Linked DNA regions of Homo sapiens: all the other regions are linked to region 1. Evidence: promoter capture Hi-C in human tissues and cell types (Jung and others, 2019). All regions are on one chromosome and are shown on one strand. The core of a region is centred on a gene start or on the middle of the fragment in contact, and the rest is flanking DNA. Distances in the headings are between cores, read along the strand shown. Region 1 holds the start of LRRC14B (leucine rich repeat containing 14B). Region 2 overlaps AHRR (aryl hydrocarbon receptor repressor). Region 3 overlaps LOC105374602 (a long non-coding RNA gene). Region 4 holds the start of LOC105374602 (a long non-coding RNA gene).

Region 1 (2,649 bases), core at 54-2,553:
GTGTTTGCTGTTTGAAGCCCCCAAGTGTTGGGGTGAGTCGTTCATCAACAATAGACAACTCCTCACACCACGTAGGCACTTCTGTTTCGTCTGTTTGGTAATTTCCGTATTCTCTTTTTTTAACTGGCATTCTCTCCACATCCCTAAGTCACACATGGCAGCCCGCTTCTTTCCTGGTGGCTCTGACTTTCGGTGCTCTTGCCCCTTGGCGGGGCCGCTGTCCTGTGGCTGTGGCCACACCCGGAGTGAGAGGCTGGAGGCCGTGTAGCCTCATGGCCTTGGACATGAGCAGGCCCCTGGACGATCTCTCCTTGCCTCTGCAGCCACCAGCCCGCCCTCAGTCCCCTCCCCAAGACTCACCCAAGCAGCGTCGGGATCTTCCCGGTCAGCGTGGAGAAGGCCACACTGAGCTCAGTGAGCTGCGCCATCTTGCTGAGCTCCCGGGCGATGGAGGCGAGGAGGGGGTCCTCGCCGTCGGGAGTGGAGGCGTAGGTGGGGGGTGCATCAAAGGCCTTGGTGGGCAGGGTGAGCGAGGCCAGCCGGGGGAAGCCCACCTGGGCCAGAAGCTGCTGCACGTGGCCCGCATGCAGCCGCACGTTGTGCACCACCTCCAGCTTGCGCAGGGCACCCGGGCCAGCCAGACGCAGCACGTGCAGGAGCTGGCTGGGGCTCAGGCTGTCCGCCCGGAACGAGGGGCAGTGCACCCGCAGAGGGGCCGGGCCCGCTGGCCTCAGAGCCTGCACCACCGCCTCGAAGTTGCCCTCAGTGACGAAGAGGTCGGCGAGGACCTCGACGGGGCGCCCGGCTGCGAGGGGCTCTGCCTGCAGCTCACAGCAGGTCCTGGCCAGCAGCTGGGTGCGGCCCCACCTGCCCAGCGCCCTCCCGCACGGGCACCGCTGCACCTGCACATCTCGGATGCCCGTGAGGTCAGCCACCCGCAGCCGCCGGCGGCTCCGGTCCTGCAGCACGTGGTCCGCGAGGCCGCGCACCAGCGCCTCCAGGCAGGCCCTGCAGGTTCTGTCGCGCAGGTCCTGGGGGTGGTCGGCACCAGGACCCAGCAGCGCTCCCAGCCGGAACTCCTCCAGGGGCCAGCGCCCCAGCACCGCGCGCGTCACCTCCGCCTGCTCCAGCAGGTAGCTGGCTTTGAACAGGAGTGGGTAGAGGTTGTGGGCCACGCTGTCCAGGCTCTGCCGGGCCACCTGGGGGTGGGACACCAGAGCTTCTGCAGAAATGAAGCGGAGTGACCTCATTGTGTCCATGGCCCGAGACAGGACCGCTCCCCACGACTTTCCCCAAGGCGTGTGCCCTTCACGCCTATCTTTAGCTGCAGCAGCTGTGAGCAGCCTGCCCTGGGGGCCCTGCCACGGGGCCTTATGATCATCTGACTGCTATTTTGGTCCTGGGACACCTGCGTCTGCCCGGCCTCGGGGCACGCAGCCGTTGGGAGCTGCTTGGCTCAGGCACCCAGCCGTTGGGAGCTGCTTGGCTCAGGCACCCAGCCGTTGGGAGCTGCTTGGCTCAGGCACCCAGCCGACACAGAAAGGCAGCCCGTGCCCATGGCAGGGCTGGGCAGAGAAGCCTGTGCTCCATGCTGCAGAAAGCCAGTCTTGGCAGGCGTTCGTGCTGGCGGCCGGTGAGGCCAGCGGGCAGGTCCTGTTTACCATCCAAGCGGGGCTACTGCCCAGCTCTGGGCACCTCCCCCACCAGTCAACGGGGCAGAGAACAGGCCAGGCCCCTGCGCCTCACTCGGTAACCAGTTCCCTTTCCACAGTGGCCTCTGGGGCCGCTCCCACACTTCGCCTCGCATCTGGGGTGAGACGAGTGGCCAGGAATGGAGCTGCTGTTTTGCCCCTTCCCTGTGCCTTTCCTTCTCCCCAAGGACCCGGCGGGGGTGGCTTCCCTACTTTCCATGGGAGAGAGTGGCTGGGAGAGGTGGAGCCTCCCTGATGGCCTCGGATGAGCCCCCAGCTCTCTCTGAGCTGCAGTGTCCTGTCTGCAACCCTGCCGCCTGTGCGGCAGGGAAAGCTGCAGGGAATGGGATACACCTGTGTTGGGGGGCGGTGCCTGATGGTTCACTCCCAGCACTGACCGTGTTGGACAGCTGATGGGTGCTGCACTCACCTCTCCCCGTGACACTGCCACTCAGGGCAGGGTCAGCACACATCGCTGCACACATCACTGCACACATCACTACAGGGCACCACGTGTCCATGGGCTTTGGAGGGTCACGGCCATGAGACAGAGGCTGAGGGAGACTGAGAGAAGTGAGTGACGGAGACTGAGACAGAGACAGAGGGACAGAAACTAAGAGGGAGAGAGACAGAGACTGAGGGAGAGAGAAAGGGAAACAGAAAGAGACAGACTGAGAGAGAGACAGAAAGGGAGAGACAGAGACTAAGAGAGAGAGAGAGAGACTGGTAGGCAGAGACAGAGACTGAGAAAGACAGACAGACGGGGAGACAGAAAGAGAAACAGCAGTGGGAGGGGGAAGGCTGCTGAGCAAGCTTGGAGGGTGCTGGTCATGGGTGCCCCACCAGCCTCCCTGTCTGACCCTCCCCAGTTTGTTCCCTGAGCCTGAGCAATGCCTCTCCCCGGGAGGCGACCCATGCAGAAGGGACTGTGCTCCGTTGTGGGGCCCAGGCACTGTCC
Region 2 (2,649 bases), core at 86-2,585, 230 kb before region 1:
AAGCATTTTGCACAATAAGCTCACACAAGCACAAAGCTGCTCTAATTTTTTCATGAGATATTTTGCATAAACTAGAGGCAATGCCTGATTTAATGGCATTTGGAACCAATTTCCTCATAATCAAGGCAAAACTTTTTTTTTTTAACTTCTCATGCTTGGGGAAAAATGACCAAGTGCCAAGAAAACAAAAAGTCCAATTAGCAAGTTCTGACCTGGAATCAAAGCTGCTCTGCACAGCACCTGCCCCAGTCCCCAAAGCCAAACCCTGGGGTGAGACCATCGAGCCATGGCTAAAGGCAGCGGCTCTGGGTGCATCTGGAGAACTCAGGGCAGCTCAAGATGCAGTAACTAGAGTTGACAGTGATTCTGAGCATGCAGAAGGCAGACCAAGCGGCCTTCTCTAGACTCGGGCCCTGCACATACAGACCAAGCCACCTTCTCCAGACTCAGGCCCTGCACATACAGACCAAGCCACCTTCTCTAAACTCGGGCCCTGCACATACGGACCAAGCCGCCTTCTCTAAACTCAGGCCCTGCACATACAGACCAAGCGGCCTTCTCTAGACTCGGGACCTGCACATATGGACCAAGCCGCCTTCTCCAGACTCAGGCCCTGCACATACAGACCAAGCCGCCTTCTCTAGACTCGGGCCCTGCACATACAGACCAAGCCACCTTCTCTAGACATGGGCCCTGCACATACACACCAAGCGGCCTTCTCCAGACTCAGGCCCTGCACATACAGACCCCGCCTTCTCTAAACTCGGGCCCTGCACATACGGACCAAGCGGCCTTCTCTAGACTCGGGCCCTGCACATACAGACCAAGCCACCTTCTCTAGACATGGGCCCTGCACATAAAGACCAAGCCGCCTTCTCTAGACTCGGGCCCTGCACATACAGACCAAGCGGCCTTCTCTAGACTCGGGCCCTGCACATAAAGACCAAGCCGCCTTCTCTAGACTCGGGACCTGCACATATGGACCAAGCCACCTTCTCTAGACATGGGCCCTGCACAAAAAGACCAAGCCGAAGCTGCTCTGTTTAAGTTGACAAAGTCATCGAGCCACACCGTCATGTCCGCCCATGTCCTGTACTGTGAGTGCTCCCCCGTTCACGGCACCCCACAGTGAAGGATGCACCAAACCCCAGCAAACGCCTACGGACCCAACGGACCCACTCCACTACTCTCCACACGTGTAAAGGAAGCATCCCACGGCAGCTCCATGGGATCTGAGCACAGAAGATGGAGATGAAGAGGATGCCGGGTGGCCACCCAGACGCTGATGCCATCTGTGGGAACGAGGGACCCACCAGGCGTCACTTCAGGTCCCCTCTCACAGGGCGCATCAGGAGATGACAGTGCCCCAACCACAGATACCAGGGCACACTCAGCAAAGCCTGTGGTCACGTGGTGTCAACAGCAGCCGCCTAGAGCGATGTCACTCTGTGGTAGGAGACGCCGTGCCGGGCACCAGGGCTTTTCCCAGCACTCCCCTGCTCAGTGGCCCCGTGGTCTGGCCACAGCCTGGCAGGCAAACACCGCTGCTGGCCATTGTGTGGGCACAGGAAATGAGGCTCAGAGCCATCAAGGTCGCTGCTGGGACAGCAGAGCTGTGTCTCCACCCTGCACTGCGTTCCCAACAGGGCAGTGGCCTGGACACCCCTTGGCAGCCATGTCCACTGCACGGTGTTCCCTCTCCCTGCACACAGCCATGTCCCCCTGCGTCCTCCACCAGGGCCAGCCCAGGCGTGCTGACGAGCTGCACCTTCACGTGGATGCTGGGGGAGAGGCCATCCCAAGGAGGCATCCAGTGTGCAGACACAGCCACGGTGCAGAAAACAAGCTCACTGCAATGGGCCCGGCAGTCACGTGGTCCTTGCAGTTCACAGGGAGACTGGCCTTGGGCTCAGGGGCAGGAGATTGAACTTAGAGGCGGACTAGAGGAGTTTTTTTGCAGAATCACCAGCAAGGCAGCAGCAATTTCAGCTGTGGGAAAAAATTCAAAAGCCCAGCTCTTATGGAAATTGGATAAAACTGTGCAGCCTCAGGGCCTGCGCAGACGTGAATTCTAATGACTTGTCAGGGACTAGTGTGGGCGAGCGGGGTGGTTCGTGGCTTCCACTGCCTGCTGCTCTGCACAGCCCCTAGGCCTCCCAGCCGACCAGGCAGACTCCGCCCCTAGGCCTCCCGCCCGACCAGGCAGATTCGGCCCCTAGGCCTCCCGCCCCACCAGGCAGATTCGGCCCCTAGGCCTCCCGCCCCACCAGGCAGATTCGGCCCCTAGGCCTCCCAGCAGACCAGGCAGATTCGGCCCCTAGGCCTCCCACCCGACCAGGCAGACTCGGCCCCTAGGCCTCCCACCCGACCAGGGAGACTCGGCCCCTAGGCCTCCCACCCGACCAGGCAGACTCGGCCCCTAGGCCTCCCGCCCGACCAGGCAGATTCGGCCCCTAGGCCTCCCACCCGACCAGGCAGACTCGGCCCCTAGGCCTCCCACCCGACCAGGGAGACTCGGCCCCTAGGCCTCCCGCCCCACCAGGCAGATTCGGCCCCTAGGCCTCCCACCCGACCAGGCAGATTTTTGCTTTAATCACCGTGTGCTGCCTCTGGCTCAGCGTGAATGCTGGCTCTGGGACCCTTTCCTCG
Region 3 (2,649 bases), core at 75-2,574, 160 kb after region 1:
GGTAGTGTTGTGTACATGACTATATATATTAGTCAAAATGCATTGATTTCTTCACTTAAAATTACTAAATTTTATTATATGTAAATTAAACTCAATTAGACAATAAAAAATAAGCTTTTGATCCTGAAAAAATGCCTACATATATACAAACTACCTCTGAATCAAACTACTTTTTCAGAATTTCTAATTTAAATATTCAGAAATATGAATGATGATGATGAATTTTAACAAGGCTTGCATAATTCAAATCTGTTTTGGATGATGCCCGAGAGGCATATTAGCTGCTGGACTTATGTGGACTTCCTTATCTCCTTTGCCTATGAATAAATAGGAGGTTGAGGCAGAAACAAGATATGTAATTTATGTACAATGAAACTTTCTACTGCCCAGGAAATGAAGTTTTATATTGCCCAATGAATTGTGCCTGGCAGCATAATTCACTGCTTCACAATTGATCATTCTTTTTACCCTTAAAGCACCCTTGAAATGATTGACTCAACCATGAGAGAAGCACTGTAAATATTCTCAGATACAAACTCATAGTATTAGCTTCACAGAACAACTGCAGATGCAGGTAACTAAAAATCCAGCTCAATTTGACTTTAATAAGAAGGCAATTTATTGACTCAGATGGGTAGTTCAGAAGCAGGCCAGGCTTCAGGGTGAATCTGAGCACAGAAGTTCATGGATGCTACCCAGGACTCAGTCTCTTCCCAATTTTCTGCTCTGCCTTCAGTGAAGTCAGAATCAGTCTTAGCATGGCAAAATCTCCAGGAATAATTTCTGAGGCTGCATTCTTCATCAAAGAGGGAGCATGAACAAGCACTCTCTTAGTACAACTTGTATTTGACTCTAATTGGAACAACTCAGGCCCTTGCCCATCCCCAAGTCCATTAGGGGGACCAAGGGAGTGCTGTGTGGCACCTGGCATGAGCCTCAGTTGCGCACCCACCTTGGAACCAATAACTGTGACATAGGGTGAGACAGTGCTGGTTAGGTTAAGTCAACCAGCACCCACCCCATATTTCAAACCATGTGACTGAATAACTCAGGGCTCTGTTAGGAAGGAGAAAAGGGGATGCTCCTTGAATAGTATCCAACATTCAACTACAATTTGATTTGACAGGAACCTGGAGGCCTTGCCCATAGAAATCTCTCACAGTTGCTTGGAGAGAGCAGTCAGTACAAAAATCTTATGGCAGCAACCCTGTGGCCTCAAGGGCGCCATGGACCTGGTGTGGGGGGTGGGGAAGGGAGGGTGGGGAAGGGCTCAGTGTCTTCTGAAGATGAAGCAGAAGAATAGATGGCACTGCCTTAGGAGAGTGGAAAATGTTTAACCCCAAGAGATGCCTACAGAGGCAGCTGAGCCACACCACAGACTCCTAGAAGGGTTTGTGTTAGGGTTCTCAAGTGTCTAGGTAAGGAGAGGAGATGGTGAGGCAGACACAGAAGGGCCAGTTCAAAGCATATTGGGAAGAGAGATGACTACAGAGGCAGCTGAGCCACACCACAGACTCCTAGAAGGGCTTGTGTTAGGGTTTCCACATGTCTAGGTAAGCAGAGGAGATGGTGAGGCAGGCACAGAGGGTCGGTTCAAAGCACATTGGGAAGAGTGTGATCCCAAGACCCCTCAGTCCACACTGGCAGTCAAATACTCCTCCCTGACACTGGAAAAAGAAACAATTTATTTTCTTCAGACATTGAAACAGGACTTTTCTAAGCTCCAGGACACTGGGTAACGCTGCTTATGCAAAGAGAGTATTTAGTGAAAGCCAATTTACTGAGCAGGGAGATCCGCAGACTCTTTCTGCCTCTTGGCTCCCAGAATGCTGGGTCAGTCTTGCAGTCTTAGGAGACTGGCGACCTCTTTTTGGAGATTTGCAGCTACCAACATTTTCAGGGTTTCCTCAGGTCCAGGAGTGCCAGGCTCCTGTGCACTCTTCCTTTGGGGAAGCAAAGGAATTCTCCATCTGTGCGTACAGAATGCATTAATTATTTTTTTTATTTTCTATTTTCCTGATGCTCTAGCATCTGGTGTTTACTGGGAAAAGATTGCCTTTCCCAGGGCCAGCCAATTAAACTATCAATCCAAAACCCGCACTCTTAACCACCTACTTTATCTGGCTCTGATACTGTAAGAGACAATACCGCCCTTCCCTAATCACCCCAGGGCCAGGTACTAGGCAATTAGAGATGGCCCCTATGCCCCAGAGCCTGCTGAAGCTATTCAGGCTGGCCAGCCTAAGCCTGCCTGCCCTGCCTGGCCTTGCTGTCCCACGGAGATCACAGCAGAGGCTCCTGCCCATGCCTTCCCCTCTCCTGCCTGTGCCTGGGGCTTCCCTGTGCCTCCTATTTCTAGGGATCTGTGAGTATGAACATATTTCCACAGGACAGTCACTTCCATGTCTGCAGGTCTTAACATCCCCGATTAAAACAAATTCTGAGTACATTTTAAAACATAAGTCTTCCAACGGAATTTTTAAAACCTTTATATGGAGATTTAAAAACATATATGTAAATAAACAATGAATATAACAAACCCCTATATATCTATAACCCTTCAGAGCAACCAGAAACACATGGACAATTCTGTTCTGTCTATATTCCCAAACAAAATTCATACATTGTGATTAGCTGATGTGTTTTTAA
Region 4 (2,649 bases), core at 89-2,588, 140 kb after region 1:
GGCGGAAAAGACCCTCGGGCCCTCCCGCGGCCCAGAGGTCAGCCGAGGTCTGAGGCAGGTGGACGGTTTCGTGCCCGTCCCCGGTGCGTGGGACGCCCGGCAGGACCCGAACCCGCGGCCCTGAGCCCAGCGCGGGTGGGATCCAGGACCGGGTCAGCGCGGCGTCCCCGCCCTTGCCCGCTCTCGCAGCAACACCCCCCAACACACACATACGTTTTGTTCCCGCGTCCTTGTCTCCACCCGGCGGTCCCGAACAAGTTCTGACCTCAGGTTAGGGGCGAGCCCTTCCCTCCGCCAGGTGCGGAGGCTGGAGATGAAGAAGCCGGGCCCCAGGAGCCTTTCCGGAGCACCCTCACCTGTGCGGGTGGAGTGGGGGCTGAGGTGGAGGCGCAGTAGTGCTAGGGCCAGGCTTCCTGGTGTTTAGGTAAACGCCATTTCCTTAAAAATAAACTTCCAGCCTGGGCAACGTAGTGAGACCCCCTTCTCTACAAAAAGTAAAAATAAAATTAGCCTGGCGCACCTGTGGTCCCAGCTACTCCGGAGGCTGAGGCGGGAGGATTGCTTGAGCCCGGGAGGCGGAGGCTGCAGTGAGCCGAGATCGCGCCACTGCCCTCCAGCCTGGGCGACAGGGCGAGACCCTGTCTCTAAAAAAGAAAGGAGAACAAACTTGAAACTCTGCTCCTCTGGGCAGTGAGCTTCGGGAAGCCCCTGTCGCCCTGACTGTCCCCCGCCACGCATAAAGGTCTATTTCTTGCCGAGGAAGCGTTTCAACTGCCTGCTTTTTTTTTTTTTTTTTTTTTTTTTTTTTTTTTTTGAGACTGAGTCTCATTCTGTTGCCCAGGCTGGAGTGCGGTGGCGCCGTCTCCACTCACTGCAACCTGTGCCTCCTGGTTCAAGCGATGCTCCTGCCTCAGCCTCCTGAGTAACTGGGATTACAGGCGTGTGCCACCAAGTCCAGCTAATTTTTGTATTCTTAGTAGAGACGGGGTTTCACTATGTTGGTCGGGCTGGTCTTGAATTCCTGACCTCAGGTGATCCGCCCACCTCGGCCTCCCAAAGTGCTGGGATTACAGGTGTGAGCCACCGTGCCCGGCCTCAACTGCTCTTTACGGACCTAAAGTCTCTCCATTGCGGTAGGAACTTAAGATTTGTTGAAAATAACATAGTTTACCTGATAACATAGTCCTGTTTGAGGTTGAAAGACGTTTATTAAGGCCATTTTTAATGCTTTTTTTTTCATTCTTGTTAGCAAAACACAGTGAAGAAGTAGAGACACTTAAATTTTCCAAACTCTTTGTCCTCACAAGTGGCTCCAAAACGAGCACATTTTCAGAAAGGAACTGAAAAAACATTTTTGGTTTTATACCTTCTCTTATTTCCAAAAAGGATTGGTCAGTTTCAAAACTGCCAAAGGCAACGTAAAATAAAATGTAACAGAAGGTCAGTGACCCGCCATGGAGTAGAGCGGGCCGTTTCCCCCTTGTCCTTTCAGAATCCACCCAGGGACAACTTGAACGGTAATAGCGGAGACTCGGCTGCAGCGAAAGGAAGGGCTGCCCACACCGCGGGTCTACACCCAGACGTGGGAGACGCAGCCGGGACCTGCTCCGGAGTCTGGGCTAGAGAGGAGGCGAAGAGGGAGAAACAGCGTGTGGACCAGGCGCCTCTGCGGGAACCCGGCAGGACAGAGGCGCGCAGGGGCCATGGGTGCGATAAGCGCTCACACGCCTCGCAGGAGCAGGGCGCACACCTGGAGCCCGCTCAGCACCACCCACCCCGAAAGATGGAAGATTTAGACAAGCCGGAAGGAACCGTTCACTCATACCTAGAAAGAGTGAACGAGGAACCAGCCCAGGAAGAAAAGAAAAAGAACAAGGAACCAAATACACAACAAAAATGGAAGTCAGAACAACACGTGATAAAACGTTGTCATTGAGTAGATGGAAATGACGACTTAACGTTAACGCATTGCGCATGGTTTAAGAGCCGTTTTGAAAACGGGAGATGATGAAAAGGAAGGAAGGATGAAAAAACAGACTTTCAGGAAAAGGGGGGAAGATATAAGATCAGTGGGGTGCTTACCATGGAGCCACAAAAAAACAACCAGAACTGCAGACCAGGGAGATGCCCCACCCAGGCCGGCCCCTCCGAGCCTCCGCGGGGATACTACGGCCCCGCCGGGACGGAGAGGGCGAGGCCGGGGGAGACTGCGTCCTGCAGCGCCGCGCCGCCACCGCCCATCTCTCGCCGCGGGGGCCCTGGATCGGGCAGGTCCCCGGGAACCGGGCAGCTGAGGTCGCCGGGTCAGCTTCCCCGGCCCAGTGCCCAGCGGGATGAAGACGCCGGGCCCCGGGCATCCCCAGGTTTGGAATTAGGATTAGGCGTTGGAGTTAACCGGACTCCGCGGAGTTCCGGGGACCCGGAGACAGCATGAGTCTCAGCGCGCAGTCAGCAGAGGCGGTCCTGGCGCCAGGGTAGGTGAGGGCACAAGCACCGAAGCGGGTGGGGCAGCAGCCGGGCGCCGGAGTGAGCGGGGGCACGGACGAGGGACAAGGTGGATAGAGGCGAGACCCGGCACCGGAGTGGGTGTGGAAATGAGCACCCGGGCGAGTGAGGGTTTGAGCTTAGCGTTAAAGTCAGGGTTAGGGT

Evidence for each region. The method cuts DNA at HindIII sites, captures the fragments that hold promoters and counts their contacts. A contact is called where the count stands out against the background at its distance.
Region 2: a fragment that was not itself captured here is called in contact with the fragment with the promoter of LRRC14B in region 1 in 1 of the 25 tissues and cell types used here (spleen).
Region 3: a contact is called between a fragment that was not itself captured here and the fragment with the promoter of LRRC14B in region 1, in 4 of the 25 tissues and cell types used here (IMR-90 fibroblasts, lymphoblastoid cells, mesenchymal stem cells and 1 more).
Region 4: a fragment that was not itself captured here is called in contact with the fragment with the promoter of LRRC14B in region 1 in 3 of the 25 tissues and cell types used here (IMR-90 fibroblasts, mesendoderm cells and thymus).

What each region holds. Positions count from the first base shown.
Region 1 is chr5:190,149-192,797 of GRCh38, reverse strand. LRRC14B (leucine rich repeat containing 14B) reads right to left here and starts at 1,303. Exons shown (of 2, transcript NM_001080478.3): 1 at 361-1,303. The coding sequence starts at 1,259. It overlaps LOC124900929 (a long non-coding RNA gene), which reads left to right. Exons shown (of 2, transcript XR_007058670.1): 2 at 1-70. RefSeq lists an enhancer at 1,589-1,638. The HindIII fragment of the contact is 15,773 bases long and covers 1-2,649 here.
Region 2 is chr5:415,226-417,874 of GRCh38, reverse strand. All of the region lies in intron 5 of AHRR (aryl hydrocarbon receptor repressor), which reads right to left. The region is part of intron 7 of PDCD6-AHRR (PDCD6-AHRR readthrough (NMD candidate)); the gene reads right to left. Among named protein-coding and RNA genes, the nearest start is that of EXOC3-AS1, 27 kb to the left of the region's middle. RefSeq lists an enhancer at 2,186-2,649. The HindIII fragment of the contact is 5,097 bases long and covers 1-2,649 here.
Region 3 is chr5:31,979-34,627 of GRCh38, reverse strand. All of the region lies in intron 2 of LOC105374602 (a long non-coding RNA gene), which reads left to right. Among named protein-coding and RNA genes, the nearest start is that of PLEKHG4B, 59 kb to the left of the region's middle. The HindIII fragment of the contact is 4,384 bases long and covers 1-2,649 here.
Region 4 is chr5:50,651-53,299 of GRCh38, reverse strand. It overlaps LOC105374602 (a long non-coding RNA gene), which reads left to right and starts at 2,297. Exons shown (of 3, transcript XR_001742541.1): 1 at 2,297-2,474. RefSeq lists an enhancer at 1,089-2,002. The HindIII fragment of the contact is 8,408 bases long and covers 1-2,649 here.